3 separate regions of the Homo sapiens genome follow, and all the other regions are linked to region 1. The links are contacts of gene promoters, found by promoter capture Hi-C in blood cells and fetal thymus (Javierre and others, 2016). All regions are on one chromosome and are shown on one strand. The core of a region is centred on a gene start or on the middle of the fragment in contact, and the rest is flanking DNA. Distances in the headings are between cores, read along the strand shown.

What was found. The method cuts DNA at HindIII sites, captures the fragments that hold promoters and counts their contacts. A CHiCAGO score of 5 or more calls a contact.
Region 2: the fragment with the promoter of LINC01480 here is called in contact with the fragment with the promoter of EXOSC5 in region 1 in 16 of 17 cell types (total B cells, naive B cells, naive CD4 T cells and 13 more); the score reaches 17.0 in total B cells.
Region 3: a contact is called between a fragment that was not itself captured here and the fragment with the promoter of EXOSC5 in region 1, in 5 of 17 cell types (naive CD4 T cells, total B cells, endothelial precursors and 2 more). The highest score is 6.9, in naive CD4 T cells.

The regions. Positions count from the first base shown.
Region 1 is chr19:41,396,094-41,399,746 of GRCh38, reverse strand. It overlaps EXOSC5 (exosome component 5), which reads left to right and starts at 2,388. Exons shown (of 6, transcript NM_020158.4): 1 at 2,388-2,566. The coding sequence starts at 2,419. It overlaps BCKDHA (branched chain keto acid dehydrogenase E1 subunit alpha), which reads right to left and starts at 1,929. Exons shown (of 9, transcript NM_000709.4): 1 at 1,812-1,929. The coding sequence starts at 1,919. RefSeq lists enhancers at 1,074-1,745, 1,901-2,180, 1,746-2,418 and a silencer at 2,177-2,465. The HindIII fragment of the contact is 9,689 bases long and covers 1-3,653 here.
Region 2 is chr19:41,533,771-41,537,180 of GRCh38, reverse strand. It overlaps LINC01480 (long intergenic non-protein coding RNA 1480), which reads right to left and starts at 1,683. Exons shown (of 3, transcript NR_110724.1): 1 at 1,580-1,683; 2 at 1,398-1,467; 3 at 277-580. The HindIII fragment of the contact is 2,878 bases long and covers 1-1,971 here.
Region 3 is chr19:41,567,406-41,570,892 of GRCh38, reverse strand. It overlaps a transcript of CEACAM21 not described here. Among named protein-coding and RNA genes, the nearest start is that of CEACAM21, 7.0 kb to the left of the region's middle. RefSeq lists a silencer at 767-1,061. The HindIII fragment of the contact is 2,694 bases long and covers 1-2,620 here.

The DNA.
Region 1 (3,653 bases), core at 1,139-3,638:
AGAGAAGAGAAAAGGAAAGGAAAGGAAAGGGAAAAAGAAAAGAAAAGAAAAAGGAGAGGGGAGGAGAGGAGAGGAGAAGGAGAGGAAAGAAAGAAGAAGAGAGAAAGAACAGGTGGGAGAAATAAAGGGGAAAAAACAATAACTCTTAAGATAATACAAATTTAAATATATATAAATAAAAAGTAGGGACTTCTTCCCTCCCCACTCCCCACCAAAAATGAAGTAGGGGAAGCAAGAGGAAAGGTAATCAAGAGATTGAGACAGGAGAGAAAGATTTAATCAGCCATAAATGACCTTTCCCTAGCCTGCCCCAGTCCTGCCCACCTCCTGCCCCACTTGCCCAGCCAATGGGCCCCTGGGACTGAGATCAGCTGTGGAGGATATGAACTGCTCAAAAAAAAAAAAAAAAAAAAAAGTGAAAAGGTCTCCAGCCCAAAGGCAAGAGACTGCCCTACCCACACCTTGCTCCTGCAGCCCTTCTGTATTTACCTGTTTCAAGTGACTCCGTTCCTAGATACCTACTACGTCCTACTCCTGGCCCATCTTCTTCACCCTCCTCCCGTTTGTTCCCCTACCCAGAGCTTCTTTCTACAGATTCCATCTTCCCCTCCTTATGGATTGGGGATCAGAGGATCAGACTCAACCTCACAATATCTTTTCAGATTTTTTTCCCCAGGGCCTCACCAATCCAGGCCTTCCCAAGGTCACCCCTTTCTTCTCCCCATCTCCAAGGTTAGTTTCTGTCCCTTCCCTCCACCCTCACTATCAACATTCCTATTGCCCTTAGGATGTGCCAGGTCCAGTCCTTAGCATTTTACATATTGATTTTTCACAGCCCTATGAGGTGGCCACTGTTAATATTTTAGAGAGGAAAATTAGCTCCATAGATCCAGAGAAGTGCAGTCCGTTGGCCAAGGCTACACAAGTGGAAAGCGGCAGAGCAAGGACATGCATCCACCCATGTAACCACTACTCTCCTATCTGTCAACTGTAGTTCAAAGCTCTTCTGCAACCCATTGCCTCTCCCCGTCTAAAGATAGGCTTCCACCTAGGTTTTTTGCAGTGTAATCTTGCCCTTAGCAGCATCCACCTGAAGGGATTGTGACCCTTTTGACAAGAAACAAAGCCTTCTCAAGTGTTTCTAAGAAATGTGGGCAAAGTGCCCTGTCTGTACCTCTCTCCCTCCTTTTTTCCCCTCATTAATTCAACAAATATTAATCGTCTCCTCTGTACAGTGTCCAGAACACACGAATTCTCTGTCTTGATATTCGATCAAGAGACACAGGAATCAAACAAATTTTTTACACAATTCATTTTAAAATCAGAATTGTGGCAAAGGAGCAAAGAAATACAAGGCCCTATGCAGCCTGTGACAGGGACCTGTTCTCTTCTTTCTTCTTCTTGAAGAGGGATCTTTGCCCAGAAGAAAGTCCCTCCCTTACAAAGTCAGTTTCATTCTCCAAACCCTGAGGGAGAAGGTCTTGCGGTCTTCCCCTGTTCCTCCAAGGAGCCTCCCCTGAATACCAGTGGCAGCTAATAAGGAACCCCCATCTCTCTCTTCAAGTCGTCTCCCTCAGGGCCCACAAAGAAGTTGCAAACGGGTTTTTTCCTCTCCTAAAGAAGTGGAAGTTCTTTTCGTCTCCTAAGGAAGTGGCAGATCTTCCCTTCGGTGTCTTCTCCAAGGAGTCTCCCACTCTTTTTCCCTTTTGTGACAGCCCTTCCTTCATATCCTTCAGGGACCCCACACTCTGAAGATAGCCTTTACATCCCTAATCCCCTTTGGGAAAACCGCCTGGGGCCCAGGTACTCACAGATCTAGCCAGTCCCCGAGCCCCAGGCTGCCGCAGCAGCAGGAGGGCAGCCTGGCTCAAACCACGGTTTAGCCGCCAGACCCTCGCTGCAGCGATCGCTACCGCCATCTTGGCTAACAACCACTCAGCGGTCCGGCACTCACGTAGGCTAGATTCGGGGCTGCCTCTTTATGTGCCTGACGCAAACTCCAGCACCATCTGACAAGAAAACCATCTTCTTCCCGTTCTGTGGTAGATAGAATGCACAGAGATTTGGAGAAAAAAAAATCTATCTACCCAAAATTTTCTCCAATCGCCTCATTGTAGTTACTCCTGTAACAGGCAAAGAAGAGGGCAACCTGACCAGGGCCTCAGGGATTTAGGGCCCGGGGGCCCAGAGTAAAGCGGATCAATGCCAAGGCCTGCCTTCTGTTCCCAAATGTCCAATGGCGTTGCCAGAGTTAGGAGGTGGGACTGGGCGGAGCCAGATTGTTGGTAAACGCTAAGCCACGTGCGGACGCCCAGGAGGATGGCCCAGCCCGGCGCGTGCGCACTGGTTACGCAGCCTGTTTGCGGCGCGCGCTGCCAGGCGGAAGTGACAACTGCAGCCGCACGTGGGCTCGGCGCGATGGAGGAGGAGACGCATACTGACGCCAAAATCCGTGCTGAAAATGGAACAGGGTCCAGCCCTCGGGGTCCTGGCTGCAGCCTCCGGCACTTTGCCTGCGAACAGAACCTGCTGTCGCGGCCAGATGGCTCTGCTTCCTTCCTGCAAGGTAAGAACTTCACCCAGGTCTTTCTTTTGGAGAGGGACTACCGTGTACTGTGCAACCGAGTGCCCACCTCCTCACGATACCAGCTGGTAAATGTCACTCCTGCGTTGATGCATGATTTCTTGTCCGATTGAATACTACTAAATACGCAGGGATACACACATCTCTCCCTCACGACTAGAAAGGAGAAGATAGTTCCATCTTTGTAACTATCTCTGAGAATGAGAGGAGGGGCAGACTGTCCGCCCAAGAATTGATATTTCAGAATAGGGAAAATCACCTCGCCAGGGTAAATATCCCCCTTAACTCGATTCCTCCTCCACCCTCCCACCCCCACCCCCCACACACACACCCTCTAGGTCCTTGCATCCCGGACTGAAGCAAACCTGTCTATTTGCATACTGTGGACTGTGGCGGATCTTTCACCCACGTAAATACTCCTCAAATTGAAGATAATGTCATTGCGCTGGGTTGAGAAATACATCCCCACCGCTACCTCACTGCATCTCTCCACACAAGTAAATATCCCTAAGATTAGGGCAAGTCAAAAAAAAAAAAAAAAAAAAGATTAGGGCAAGTCTTACCTATAGAGCAAATATCCCCTTTTCCTAGCTAAATAACTCTCAGAAGTAGATTAACTCCAAGAATATTTCTCTTTAACGTTTGAGACGGGAGGCCGGGGGCGGTGGCTCACGCCTGTAATCCCCACACTTTGGGAGGCCAAGACCTGTGGCTCACCTGAGGTCAGGAGTTCGAGACCAGCCTGGCCAACATGGCGAAACCCTGTCTCTACTAAAAATACAAAAACTAGCCAGGCATGGTGGCGGGCGCCTGTAATCCCAGCTACTCGGGAGGCTGAGGCAGGACAATCACTTGAACCTGGGAGGCAGAAGTTGCAGTGGGCCGAGATCGTGCCATTGTACTCCAGCGTGAGCGACAAAGCAAGACTCTGTCTCAAAAAAAAAAAAAATTGAGACAGCGTCTCACGATGTCACCCAGGTTGGTCTTGAACTCCTGGGCTCAAGCAATCCTCCTCCCAAAGTGCTCATACAGGTATGAGCCACCACGCCCAGCCCCAATACATTTTAAC
Region 2 (3,410 bases), core at 434-2,933, 140 kb before region 1:
TTGCTTCTTTAGTACTCCGCTGCTCAAACCTCTAGGGAAGCATACAGACTGGCAAGTTGTGGGGCTACAACCCCATGGCAGCATCTAGGGGTAGATGTTTACAGCTGCTGAAGCCCCAGTGGACATGTGGTACCATGTGCTCTTTTAGTTTTGCCATCTATAGGTGGCTTTGTGGTAACCAGCTCAATTAGACCCATTCCTTAACCCAAAGACAGAGGGCTTTCTGTATCCCGCGGTTGTTACCTAGGTGTACCAGAAAAATCAAATCACACGTGGTCTTGGAGAATGAGTGCAAGGTTTTATTGAGTGGAAGTAGCTCTCAGCAGATGGGGGAGCCAAAAGGGAGAATAGTTTTCCCCTGAAGTCGGGTTATTCAGCGGCCCAGGCTCTCCTCTGGCTGCCCCAGCCAAACTCTATGTCAATCCATTGGTCGGTGGCCTGCCAGAGTGCTGGTGCCTGTTGGTGGATTCCTCTCAGCGTCGAGAGTTTTTCCCTCTCAGGAAAGGGAGAGAAGTGGCAGCCACCCATGTGTTCTTGCACTGATGTGCTCCTCTCGACGTCCAACCTCCTGTGTGTCTGCCTGCTAGGGTCCCAGGGTTTTTTTAGGCACAGGATAGGGCATGGTGGGCCAGGGTGATCTTGGGAAATGCAACATTTGGTCAGGAAAACAAAAATGCCTGTCCTCATCTAGGTCCAGGGGCACAAGCCCAGGTTTGGAGCCCTAGCCAGGGACCCCGGCCTCCTCTACCCATCACTTTCCTTCACCTTTTCTGTATCATTCAAAGGGACCATGCCCTTCCCTTCCCAGCACTTCTCTTCTGTATCAATAGGTGATGTTTTTAAAATTTCCCAACTCTAGTGCAGGCATGGTACTAGACATATACATAGAAATAAAACCACACTTATTCTTCTGGCTGGCAAGACATAGTATTTTTGCCAAATTATGTGTTGTTTTGAAGCATTTTATGTACCCCTGGTCATATAAAAATAAAGCTATTTTGTTCAGTACAAACAGCAGCATTTTCTGGATTAGAAAGTTAATCATCTTAAAAGATCATCACGGATTTTTCCATTGCACTCATCACTAATTGCTTTGGCAAAAAATTTCTTATCTCACGCATGACAAAATCAGCCGCAGTATCTCCTAGTAATTTAATGGTGATGATCTTTATAAAGGAAATAAGCACATCAAGGGAAAACATAATTTTTTTAAAAAAAAGAGTAATAAAACTTTTTAAAAGTCTTTTTTAAAAGACTGCTTTTCTAAAATAGTAAAATAAAACTCCACCAATAAAACCACCAACAAAACAGAAAAGAAAAAATAATGATATGATCGGAGCTATTTGATGAAAGATGGTAAATTAAATTTAAAATGATTAGAAGAGAAAAAGCAATACCTGTCTCCCGTAGGTCTCAGTCCAGGTTCTGCTATGCCTTTCTCCTGGTGAGCCACCTATTTAAGAGTCGCTTAAAGCATATGTTAATCCAACAACAGCAGATTAAAAACCAATGCAATCTGAACTATTTGATCTAAAAACATAAATAAAATTTAAAACAAATAAAAGAGAAAAAGCAGTACCTGTGTCCTGTAGGTCTCAGTCCAAGATCTGCTCTGACTCCCTTGTGGTGAGTTAGCCCTTTAGAAGTCACTTGGGGTGGGGCATATGTTAATTCCACTAACATTGGTTCTGGCCAATGAGTCAGGAAGGTGGTAAATGGCACCTTTTCTTCTTGCTGATTTCTTTCAGTTCCTTTGGAGTCTGGACATTAGTCCTTTGTCAGATGCCTAGTTTGTGACTACTGTTTCCTATACTGTGGGTTGTGTGTTTACCCTGCTGATATTTCTTCTGCCTTGCAGAAGATTTTCGGTTTCATTAGGTCCTATTGATCTTATTCTATTTTTATATTTTTGCGTTTGCTTTTGGGGCATTAGTCATGACTACTTGGCCTAAGCCAATGTCTAGAAAAGCTTTTTGGATGCTATCTTGTAGCATTTTTAGACTTTCAGGTCTTAGATGGAAGTTTTTATATGCTTTGTTAAAGATCAGGTGACTGAAAGTACCGGGCTTTGTTTCTCGGTTCTCTATTCTGTTCCATTGCTCTATGTGCCTATTTTTATACTTCCTGCACCATTTATTGAATAAAGTGTCCTTTCCCCAATTAGTGTTTTTGCATACTTTGTTGAAGATTAGTTGTCTGTAAGCATTTGGCTTTATTTCTGGGTTCTCTATTCTGTTCCATTGCTCTATGTGCCTATTTTTATACTTCCTGCACCATTTATTGAATAAAGTATCCTTTCCCCAATTAATGTTTTTGTGTACTTTGTTGAAGATTAGTTGTCTGTAAGCATTTGGCTTTATTTCTGGGTTCTCTATTCTGTTCTATTGCTCTATGTGCATATTTTATACCAGTATCATGCTATTTTGGTGATTGTAGCCTTGTAGTATAATTTAAAGCCTGCCTTCAGATTTGTTCTTTTTGCAAAGTATTGCTTTGGATATGCGGTCACGTTTTTGGTTTTGTATAAATTTTAGGATTCTTTTTTCTAGTTCTGGGAAGGAGAATGATGATATTTTGATGAGAATTCTACTGCTCTGTAGATGGCTTTGGAGAGTATGGTCACTTTCACAATATTGATTCTACCTATTCATAAGCTTATAATGTGTTCCCATTTGTTTGTGTCAACTGTGATTTCTTTCAGCACTATTTTGTAGTTTTCCTTGTAGGAAACTTACATTAACCTACTTGGTTAAGTATATTTCTAAGTATTTTACTTATTAAAAATTCTCAGGGAAATGCAAAGTAAAACTGAGGTGGGAAATTAAAGAAAAATAAAATTAAAAAGAAAGGGAAATAAGCTTTCTTGTATTAAGCTAACTTGTCCCAGAGGCAGCAACAGGCACAGCCCAGACCCAGGAAAAGTCTTGATAATATTATTTATTGTATTCTGGAGACTCTTCCAGCACTCCTTCAATGTAGGGAGAAGAAAAACAAATTTTCCTTTGTTTTATGGTATGAGTTTATAGATTCTTGTTCTCTTTAACTAGTAACTTCAAGTATTCTGTTTTATCTAAGAAGTATGGCAAAGGTCATGAGAAGCCTGAGCAGGCCTGAACTACAGCTCTCTAGGCACCATAGTGAAGATAAACCAATGCAAGCCTCTTTAGAGCAAAACCTAGATAATAGACATCTGGGTTGCATAGCAACAGTTATGTGCAATCCTGAGTTATGAACCTGTTACAATTTGATTAACTGTCTTTTTCCTGCCTCTGTATCCCTGCTTTCACACCACTGTAAGCTTGCTTCAAGCTGGCCCACCCCCTTTTGTGAAGTGTGTATAAAAGTCAAGTGCTGTCTTTGTTCCAGGCCCTGTCTTTGGACGTGAGTCTGCTGGGCCTGAGAGCACTCAA
Region 3 (3,487 bases), core at 24-2,523, 170 kb before region 1:
CACCTGAACTCACCCCTTAGTCCAAGGCCAGCCCTGATCTCCGCTCTCCTGGTCTCCTTGCTCCTTAGCAGGAGGCGCCCACTAGATGGCGCCCTTGCCCTTACTGGAGCTCACCGTCTCCCTTTCCACCCTGAGACAAATGTGGCTGCTTTTACTGCCACAACCCCAGCCCTCCACGCTCTAGATTTGCTCAGGGAGCAGCTCCTGGACAGACCTCAGGGACCCCAGGGAGGAGCCTCACTCTGGAGATTTTGATGGCATGGTCTTTGAACTTCACTGTTACCCCCAGTCAGGATCCAGGATGTTGGGAGTGCATGATTCTGCCCGGTCCCACTTCAGCAGGACCCCACTGCTGAGTTGTCTGTGGGGACCCGGGCCTCTCATCTCCTTCTTGCATTGCAGGAGAGGGATCTTAGCACTGCTTTCACATAAAGTCAGATAATGGAGGAGTGCAGGTGAGTTTGGGAAGGTGGACATGAAGAGAGGTTGTGTCCCTAGAGGTGGCAGCAGTGAGAGGATGGGCAGGTGGGAGGAACACAGCCCATCCAGGGTTGCCAGCCATATTAGGAGCGACAGCCTTTCCTCTAAGCCTCCAGCCTTTTTCCTGAAACATTCCAGAACTTTCCACTTCAGCACTTCCCACTGAGGCTCCTCAGGTCTGTCCCTGAGCTCCCAGCTGAGCCTACCTACCCATCTGAAATCCTGAGTCCTGTGTCACCCTCGTTCCCCATTATTCTGTGCAGTTCTGTGGGACGCCCAGCTCTCCTGACACCCCCAGTCTTCAGAATGGCCATCAGCGCTGTCGCTGTGGCACCAGGGTGACTGCCGCCTGGAGGCTGAGTCCTGGCTTCCTGACAGCTGTGGGGCCCGCTCTAGGCTCCCTTGTCCTGATCATTCATCACCTCCAGGATGCACAGCAGCTGGGCCAGGGGGAGGAGCAGGGACAGGTGTCAGCCACCCTGTGTGTCTGCAAGTCAGGCTGGGGGTGTGGGAGGACGCCAGGAATGACTGAACTTTCTGATTTAGAGGGTGAGAGCTTGCACTGATGGAATTTGGGATTTAATAGGAAAAGCATAGCGTTTTCCTATTTTGTAGGCGGGGTGGCTGGAGTTTGGAATCATAGATTCCCCTGGGATGTCACTGTGGACCTCAGTCCCACCCGTTAGGGGCACAGATTTCAGAATCCACACCCTGGGGCAAAGCAGGCATGGGAGGCTCCATCAGCCTGGCCAGGGCTCTCTATTTGTGCAGCTGCTGCAAGGAGATGTGCACTCTGATGGGAACAGTGCTCCCTCCTCCTTGGGGGGCAGTATCTAGCTCCCTGCAGCCCCTCTCCCTGCAGGCCCTGCCCTCTCTGAACCTCACCTTCCCCAACCCGCCCCCCGCAATCCCATCTCAGCTGTAATCCCAACACTTTCTCATCCATTATGGGTGGACTGCTTGAGCCCAGGGGTTCAAGACTATGCTGGCTGGACAATATAGCGAGTTGTTGTCTCTACAAAAAGACAAAAATTAGCTGTGCATGGTGGCATACACCTGTAGTCCCAGTCACTCAGGAGGCTGAGGTGGGAGGATTGCTTGAGCTGGGGAGGCTGAGTTGGCAGTGAGTTGAGATTGTGCCACTGTATACTTCAGTGTAGGTAACAGAGCGAGACCCTGTCTCAAAAAATAAAAGTAAAAAAAAAAAAAGAAATATGGAATACATTATTGTTAACTCTAATCAACCATGCTATGCAATAGTCCACCAGTAATACCAGTAATAGCCAATAATGAATTATCTGAAAAAGAATACAATTTATTCTTAGCTATCTACTGCTAAAATTTTTAAGCTATCTTTTATGATAGCTGAAACAAAAGAAGTAAATTTAACCAAGGAAGTAAAAGACCTTTATAATGAAAACTGTAAAACATTGATGAAATAAATTGAAAAAGACACACGCACAAATAGAAGATATTCCATGTTCATGAATTGGAAGAACTGATATTGCTAAAATGTCCTTACCACCCAAAGTGGTCTACAGATTCAATGCAATTTCTGTCAAAACACCAATGATATTCTTCGAAGAAGTAGAAGATCCTAAAATTAGAAACCACAAAAATTCCTAAAACCTGCACAAAACACCCTGAGTTGCCAAAGCAATCTTAAACAAATAGAACAAAGCTAGTGGCATTACACTTCCTGACAATCAAAGCATACTGCAAAGCTATAGTAACCAAATCAGCATGGTCCTGGCATAAAAACAAGCACATAGATCAATGAAACAGAATAAAAATCCCAGAAATAAACCCATGCATCTCTAGCTAACTGATTTTCAGCCAAGGAGCCACATGCACACAATGGGGAAAGGACAGCCTCTTCAATAAGTGGTGCTGGGGAATTGGATATTCATATGCAGAAGAATGAACCTAGACCCTATCCCTCACCATGCACAAAAAATTAACTCAAAATGTATTAAATAAAGACTTAAATGTAAGAACTGAAACTATGAAACTACTAGAAGAAAATATAGGGGGAAAATCCATGACATTGGTCTAGGCAAAGAGTTTTTGGATAAAATCTCAACAGCATAAGCAACAAAACCAAATATAAACAAACGGGATTTCATCAAACTAAAAAGCTTTTATACAGCAAAGAAAAAAAAGGCCAGCAGAGCAAAGAGACAACCTACAAATGGGAGGAGAATATATTTGTAAATATATACATATATATTTGTAAATATATACATCTGATAAGAAGATAATATCCAAAATATATAAGAAAATTATGTTTCTGTATAGTTTTATCTGACTGGGATACAGAGGCCACATCCACAGTCCCATCCTCAAAGGCCACTTGTTCCCAAAATGTCAAGCACATCCCTCAATGATCCATCATCAACACCTATGTCTGTAGGATGAAGGGTGAATCATGAAGCACTAAAAAGGAAGAAGGAAGCCAATCCCAAAACAAAATGATGCAGGGTCTGGAAAGTCCAAAGCATTTTTTTTTTTTTTTTTACTGCATCTTCCTCCTTTCTTCTCCACATTCCCAATCCTCACTATTGATTAACAAAACAAAAAAAACTGGGACCCACCATCTTCCCTACTGTCAGGAGATCTAGCGAGATTGTTTGAGTCTTAGACCAAACTTTGCCATAAGCCAAATTTCTGGCTGACTTTACAATGATATGAGCTAGCACAGTCTCTTTTTCTGCCAGTCAACTTGTGCTCGGTTTTATTTGCAACCAAATAGAGGTGGTAACCAAATATAGGTGACCCTAAAATTAGTCATCAGGATGAAATCCTAAAATGTGCAACAAACTGGGTTGAATTCAGGATTAGTAGCAACATCTCTGTTGTGGGCTTGAAAAGGGGGCACCCTTTTATGCAGTAGCAAAATTGCTAAATTGTTGTTTGCTGAGTCTTTGGACTCTCATCCCGGATTTTCTATGACCATTCAAACAGGGCTGCAATGAACATCTATGGTTGTTTAGCTTGGCACACTTCT